Regions from separate parts of the Homo sapiens genome. Here region 2 is linked to region 1. Evidence: promoter capture Hi-C in 16 types of primary human blood cells and fetal thymus (Javierre and others, 2016). All regions are on one chromosome and are shown on one strand. The core of a region is centred on a gene start or on the middle of the fragment in contact, and the rest is flanking DNA. Distances in the headings are between cores, read along the strand shown. Region 1 holds the start of MRTFA-AS1 (MRTFA antisense RNA 1). Region 2 holds the start of LOC124905123 (a long non-coding RNA gene).

Region 1 (3,861 bases), core at 468-2,967:
CCCTTTGTATTCAATTTCTCCTTCCACTTCCAGCCCCAGGCAATCACTGATCTGCTGTCACTCTAGAGAAACCTGAATTTTTTTCCTCACACAATTTAAAAAATTGAGATACAATTCACATACTATAAAATTCAACCATTCAAAGTGCATAATTCCATAGTTTATCGCAACTAATTCCAGAACATTTTCATTGCCCCAAAAATAAACCCTGTATCCATCAGCAGTCACTCTCCATTTCCTGTTCTGGACATTTCATTTAAATGGAATCACACAATATGTGGCCTTTTATGTCTATGTCCTTTCATTTGGAAAATGTTTTTAAGGTTCATCATTTTTTTTTTTAAGACGAGTCTCGTTCTGTCACCCAGGCTAGAGTGCAAGTGGCTTGATCCCCGTTCACTGCAACCTCCATCTCCCAGGTTCAAGCGACTGTTGTGCCTCAGCCTCCCGAGTAGCTGAGACTATAGGCACATGCCACCAGCCTGGCTAATTTTTCTGTATTTTTAGTAGACATAGGTTTCGCCATGTTGCCCAGGCTGGTCTCAAACTCCTGGGCTCAAGCGATCCACCTGCCTTGGCCTCCCAAAGTACTGGGATTATAGGCATAAGCCACCACACAAGGCCAAGGTTCATTCATTTTATAACATATATCAACAGTGATTTCTTTTTATGAGTGAATAATATTCCATTGTATGGATATACCATATTTTGTTTATTCATCAACTGAAAGACATGTGGGTTGTTTCCACTTTTTAGCTATTTTGAAAAAGCTGCTATGAACATTTGTCTGTGTAAAAATACACAGACAAATGTTTTCAGTTTTCTAGGATATATATCTAGAAGTAGAATTGCTAGGTCACAGGATCTATGTTTAACTTTTTGAAAAGCTGCCAAATTGTAGTTTTTAAACTTTTCATTCTGAGATAATTATAGATTCACATAATAAGAAATAATAAACAGCTCATGTATAAACTTTTCATTCTGAGATAATTATAGATTCACATAATAAATAATACAAAGAGCTCATGTATCCTTTACTCAGTTCCCTCCAATGATAACATCTTGCAAAACTACAGTACAATATTACAACCAGAATACTGGCACTGTTAGTCAACATACACATTTCCATCACCCTGAGGATCCCTCATGTTGACCTTTTATAGCCACATCTACTTTCAGCCCCACACCATCCACAGGCCCTGACAATATGAAGAACCAATCTGTGCTTCATATCTATAATTTTGTCATTTCAAGAATGTTATATAAATAGAATCATACAATAGGTAACATTTTAGGATTGGCTTTTTTCACTCAGAGTAATTCTCAAGAGTCATTCAGGGTGTTTTATTTCTAAAACGTTTAAAGTTTGCCCCTTTTTAAAAGTTGCTGAGCAGTATCCCACAGCCTGAATTAATTAATTAATTAATTAATTATGAGACAGAGTCTCACTCTGTCACCCAGGCTGGAATGCAGGGGTGCAATCTTGGCTCACTGCAACCTCTGCCTCCTGGGTTCAAGCAATTCTCCTGCCTCAGCTTCCCAAGTAGCTGGGACTATGTGTGCCCGCTACCACGCCTGGCCAATTTTTGTATTTTAGTATAGATAGGGTTTTACCATGTTGGCCAGGCTGGTCTCCAACTCCTGATCGCAAGCGATCCACCCACCTTGACCTCACAAAGGGCTGGGATTACAGGCATGAGCCACCACACCCGGCCTCAAATGAATTTTTGGGATGGTACAAGGTAAGAGTCAATGTTCCCTCTCTCTCTCTCCTTTTTTTTTTTTTAAGACGGAGTCTTGTTCTGTTGGCCAGGCTGGAGTGCACTGGCACAATCTCGGTTCACTGCAACCTCCGCCTCCCAGGTTCAAGCGATTCTCCTGCCTCAGCCTCCTGCGTAGCTGGGATTACAGGCGCACGCCACCACGCCCAGCTAATTTTTGTATTTTTAGTAGAGACGGGGTTTCACCATGTTGGTTGGCCAGGATGGTCTCGATCTCCTGACTTCGTGATCCACCCACCTCGGCCTCCCAAAGTGTTGGGATTACAGGCGTGAGACACTGCACCCAGCCCTCTCTTAATTTTTTTAACATACAGATAGCCAGTTCTTTCCTGATTTGTAAGTTTTTATTTAAACCAGAGTTAGAAAAATAATTAAAATAACACTACCTCTAAACACTCAAAACCACTGCTATGACATAATCCTGCCATTTCAGTAGAACAGAAAATCCCCACGCCTTCCCCTCAGCTCGGAGGGCACAGGACTGGGCAGCAAGCTCCACCAGTTTGTAGAAGGAGTTCAACTTCCAGACAGCAGGGAAATGCCTTTCTCTGAAGTTATTACATGAGTTCACACTGAAGGGAAAGAAGAAAGTGAGCCTTATCATTTTCCCAAGATGCTGTGAGATGTGTTGGATTTACTCTCACTCATAATTGTGCAGGATGGTTGTTTTGTTTTGTTTTGAGGCAGGGTCTCACTCTGTCACCCAGGCTGGAGTGCAGTGGTGTGGTCTCAATTCACTGCAACCTCTGCCTCCAGGGTTCAAGCAATTCTCCTGCCTCCGCCTCCCGAGTAGCTAGAGTCACAGGTGTGCACCACCATGCCTTGCTAATTTTTGTATTTTTAGCAGAGATGGGGTTTCATCATGTTGGCCAGGCTGGACTCCAACTCCTGACCTGAAGTGATCCGCCCCCCTCAACCTCCCAAAGTGCTGGGATTACAGACGTGAGCCACTGTGCCTAGCCACAGGTATGTTCGGGATGGTTTCAACCAACATCAATAGAACCAACTAAGAATAGATGGCCTTCAGCAACACAGAGGGGTAGCACAGGAGTTCCAAAGATCAGTAGTTTGAAAATCAGGTCACAGGGAGTCCACGCTATATGATCTTGGGTAAGTCACTTAACATTCTTAGCCCCCCGTCTGTTCACCTGTAAAACCAAGGTTTGTTATCAGGTCATGTCTAAGATCCTTCCCAGTTAAACATTCTAGAATGCCAAAAATAAGCCTATTTGTTCTTTCTTTGAAAAATGAAGAAAAATGGCAAAAAAAAAAAAAAGTTGTCAAATTGTGAACGTTTATCTAACACAGAGAACTATACCAGGAGCAGGTTTTCTTTTTTGTTTCCTGTTTTACCCTATTCTTCCATACTAATTAGACATCATATAAATCCCACATATAAATCCAACACATCTCATAGCATCTTGGGAAATAAAAATAAAATATCTTTTGGAACTGAACTTCTCAACTTTAATATGCATGTGACAATCTTTTTTTTGAGATAGGGTCTCACTTTGTGGCCCAGCTGGAATACCGTGGTGCAAACACGGTTCACTGCAGCCTTGACCTCCCAAATTCAAGTGAGCCTCCCACTTCAGCCCCCTAAGTATCTGGGACTACAGGTGTGTATCACCATGCCTGCCTAATTTTTGCATTTTTTGTAGAGATGAGGTTTCACCATGTTGCCTAGGCTGGTCTCAAACTTCTGACATCAAGCAATCTGCCCACCCTGGCCTCCCAAAGTGTTGGGATTACAGCTGTGAGCCACTGCACCCGGCAAATAATCTTTTTAAAACAGATTGTGATTCCGCAGGTCTGAGGTGGCGTCTGAGATTCTGCATTCCTAATAGGCTTCCAGGTGATACAAAGGCTGCCAGACCTTGGAACATACTTTGAGTAGCAAGGTATTAGAAGAATACGGACATAGTATCTGTTTGAGTAACCTAATTAATGTTGATACCTAAGTTTTCAGTACTTTACATAACCAAATAAATTAGTCTTATGGCACTGATTTGAGGAATATAATCTTATCGATTCCCAAGAGAATATACTAAGAAAACAGTTCAAAAAATCAAGTTTAATT
Region 2 (3,861 bases), core at 758-3,257, 160 kb after region 1:
CGGGAAAGGGCCCGATCGCTCTTTCCCGCCTCTCACTGGTGCGATGGAAGGTGGCCTTTCTCCCAAGCTGGTGGATAATGAAAAATAAAGCATCCCATCTCTCGGCGTTCCAGCATCCTGTCAATTTCCCTTTTGCTCTAGAGGATGCATGTTTATTTGAGGGGATGTGGCACTGAGCCCACAGGAGTAAAAGCCCAGTTTGCTAGGAGGTCTGCTTACTGAAAACAAGGAGACCTGGGGTGGGTGTGGTTGGGGGTCTTAAAACTAATAAAAGCTGGGGTCGGGGGGCTTTTGCAGCTCTGGTGACATTCTCTCCACGGGGCACATTTGCTCAGTCACTAATCCAGCTTGAGTGTCCGTGTGTTCTGCATGTGCAGGGGTCATTCTAGTGCCCGGTGTGTTGGCATCATCTTTTTGCTCTAGCCCTTCCTCTCCAAAATAAAATCAAATAAAGGAAAATCTCCACCCACATCACTCTGGATGTTCTTGTGGACTTGGGGGTGGGTGTGGGCTGGGGCGGGGAAGGTGGGCAGCAGAAAAGAGAAAGAGGGGTCACTTGGTTGTGGAATTTAGATCTTGGTTCATGCTGCATTTTTAGGAAGCATGAAGCAGGGATCTGTTTTTCTGAACCCACAGGGAGGATTCAGTGGCATAAATGGAATTACTGGGGATTCATTAGATTTTGCAGTTCTGCTGCTGGGCTTGTTCTTGGGACTCAGCTTCCTGTCTTCTGCACAAAATCCCCTGGGCTTTGTTGTCATCAGTGATGAGTCCTCAGGCCCCAAGTCCCAACCCCCACTCCCCCGCCTCAACCCTCACCCCCGCTGAGTCACCAGCCGCAGAGCCAGCTCTTAGGGCAGCTGAAGCCTCTCTGCTTTCTACAGCTGAGATCTGGTGTGGGCACCTTGAACAGAAGATTACAGCCGGGGCCACTGGGAGGCAGCCACGACTGCTGCTTGGCTGCTGCTTCTTGGTGTCTTCACTGAGAGGGGACTGGGAGCCGTCAGTGCAGTGCTCAGCAGACCTTACTGAGAGAGCGGGAGAAAGCTGCAAGCATCCTGAAAGCAGGGGCAGCAGCACAGCCTGTTCCTCTTCAGAGCTGCAGCAGGGAGCCTCTTCAGAAAACTTCTGGGCAGCTTCCTTGGGTCCTGGGGACTTTTTTTTTGAGACAGAGTATCGCTCTGTCGCCCAGGCTGAAGTGCAGTGGTGTGATCTCTGCTCACTGCAAGCTCCGCCTCCCGGGTTCACACCATTCTCCTGCCTCAGCCTCCCGAGTAGCTGGGACTGCAGGCATCCGCCACCACGCCCGGCTAATTTTTGTATTTTTAGTAAAGACGGGGTTTCACCATGTTAGCCAGGATGGTCTCGATCTCCTAACCTCATGATCTGCCTGCCTCGGCCTCCCAAGGTGCTGAGACTGCAGGCGTAAGCCACCGTGCCCGGCTTTTTTTTTTTTTTTTTTTTTTGGACACAGGGCCTTGCCCTGTTGCCCAGGCTGTAGTGCAGGTGACATGATCACAGCTCACTGCAGCCTCGACCTCCCAGATTCAAGCAATCCTCCCACCTCAGCCTCCCAAGTAGCTGGGACCACAGGCGCACACCATCATGCCTGGCTAATTTTTTATATTTTGTAGAGACAGGATCTTGCCATGTTGCCCAGGCTGGTCTCAAACTCCTGGGCCCAAACAATCCTCCCACCTTGGCCTCGTGGAATGCTGGGATTACAGGCTTGAGCCACCACATCCGGCCCCTGGGGAGCTCTTTATCACAATCATTAGTATTTCCTGGCCTGTGTTCCCCTCCACCCAGCACCTGGGGAGTAAAGAAGCTGATGGTTATTTTCCTTACTCACTAACAGTAGGGTCTCCAGCTGCCACCCGTAACTTGAAATCTATTTTAGACGCACACTCAATAAAAGAAGATTCTGGCCAGGCGCGACGGCTCACACCTGTAATCCCAGCACTTTGGGAGGCCGAGGCAGGTGGATCACCTGAGGTCAGGAGTTCGAGACCAGCCTGGCCAACATGGTGAAACCTCATCTGTACTAAAAATACAAAAATTAGCCAGGCATGGTGGCACGTGCTTGTAGTCCCAGCTACTTGGGAGGCTGAGACAGGAGAACCACTTGAACCCAGGAGGCAGAGGTTGCAGTGAGCCGAGATTGCACCATTGCCCTCCAGCCTGGGCAACAAGAGCGAAAACTCCATTTAAAAAAAAAGAAAAAAAGAAAGAAAAAGAAAAAAGGATTCTTAGGGAAGCCTTGAGGCAAATCCAAAAAGACCCAATTCCTAGCCACAAACGTGATAAAAGGAGGTCTTCCTGCATCGGGTTTGTCTACTGGAAGGCTTCCCTGGGTGTCCATCAGCCCCAGCCCCTGCCTGCTCCTCACTCCCTCTCACCTTCCAGCACTCCAAGGAGGAATCCCAGAGAGGAAACAAGTGAGACGGCCTCTCCCAGGGAATGCACATCACCAAGTCAACAGCTCACAGTGGGTGGGTGGGTAGGCACACGCCCAGCGAAAGCCCCAGCAGCTCCTGGGGAAGGGGGCATCCTGTCCTTCAGCTCTTAACCCCACACTGAAACAACTGAAATGGAAGCAGAGTGGGTGGAGTCATGAAAGTGGGTGGGTAGCAATGTAAACCTTCCGGAGGGGAGAGGCGGAGGGGAGAGATGAGTTAGGGAGAACAGGTGGTCGAGGGGAGAAGTGGGGCAGGGAGGCTTAAAGGGTGGGGGATTACGATGGGAGCTGCCACCACCACATCTCTCCCCAGCCTGATTCCGCGGTAACCGGGACACACTTGCGATGTGGATGAGGGGAAGCACAGGCAGAGGTGAGCGCTGGGTTGCTGGCGAGGCATTTTCCTGACATCGCTGGTGGGGATGGTGGACCAAGTGCAGAGCTGGGGTCTGAGGCACGAGGGGAACTTTCTTTTCCTCTTCCTTAAGCCTGGGGATGTGGCCAGAACCTTGGGGAGCTGTGGAGGCCACTGTGAGCTGCAGACAGAGTCCAAGAAGCGGGTGAAGACCCTGCGGTCCATCTCTTTGCTCCTTTCCCTCTTCCCACATTTAACAATTAGTTTCTCCCATGGGGGCCCCATCAAGTCATCTCCTCAAACCTGGCCAGTGCTTCATCCACTGCTGCCTTATCTTCTCCCCAGAAAATACTTCTTCCCCAACTGTGAGGATTATGCTCCGAAACTACCCCCCAGCACCTGGTAGACTTTCACAGCTGAGAGACATTGACCTCAAAGTTTAGGTTGCAAGTGAGTCCACAGAACCACTTCCGCACATTGCTGTTCACAAGAGAAGCAAGAAGAGCACCAAACACGGCAACTGGCATTGGGTTTGTGTTTGCTTGTTCCTTTCTGAATCATCAGTTTTCATTTAATTAATTAACTTATTTTTATTTATCTATTTATTTTGAGACAAGATCTGGCTCTGTTGCCCAGGCTGGAGTACAGCGGTGTGATCTCAGCTCACTGCAGCCTCGACCTCCTGGACTCAAGCAATCCTCCCCCAACTTCAGCCTTCCAAGTAGCTGGGACTACAGGTGCATGTCACTATGCCCAGCTATTTTTTGTTTTGTTTTGGTGGAGACGGGGTTCCACCATGTTGCCCAGGCTGGTCTTGAACTCCTGAGCTCAAGCAATCTGCCCACCTCAGAGTCCCAAAGGGCTGGGATTACAGGTGTGACCCACTGTACCTGGCCTAATATACATATTTATTTATTTATTTATTTATTTATTTTTATTTATTTTTGAGACAGAGTCTCGCTCTGATGCCCAGGCTGGAGTGCAGTGGTGCAATCTCAGCTCACTGCAATCTCTGCCTCCAGGGTTCAAGCAATTCTCCTGCCTCAGC

The links. Contacts are between HindIII fragments. The CHiCAGO score rates a contact against its expected background, and 5 or more counts as called.
Region 2: a fragment that was not itself captured here is called in contact with the fragment with the promoter of MRTFA-AS1 in region 1 in 1 of 17 cell types (megakaryocytes); the score reaches 6.1 in megakaryocytes.

The regions. Positions count from the first base shown.
Region 1 is chr22:40,520,083-40,523,943 of GRCh38, forward strand. It overlaps MRTFA-AS1 (MRTFA antisense RNA 1), which reads left to right and starts at 1,718. Exons shown (of 4, transcript NR_109965.1): 1 at 1,718-2,891; 2 at 3,284-3,358; 3 at 3,443-3,636. The region is part of intron 3 of MRTFA (myocardin related transcription factor A); the gene reads right to left. The HindIII fragment of the contact is 4,880 bases long and covers 1-3,861 here.
Region 2 is chr22:40,682,344-40,686,204 of GRCh38, forward strand. It overlaps LOC124905123 (a long non-coding RNA gene), which reads right to left and starts at 2,587. Exons shown (of 3, transcript XR_007068110.1): 1 at 2,400-2,587. MCHR1 (melanin concentrating hormone receptor 1) reads left to right here. Exons shown (of 2, transcript NM_005297.4): 2 at 1-469. RefSeq lists enhancers at 1-192, 1,354-2,049, 2,050-2,745 and silencers at 762-1,056, 782-1,076. The HindIII fragment of the contact is 8,253 bases long and covers 1-3,861 here.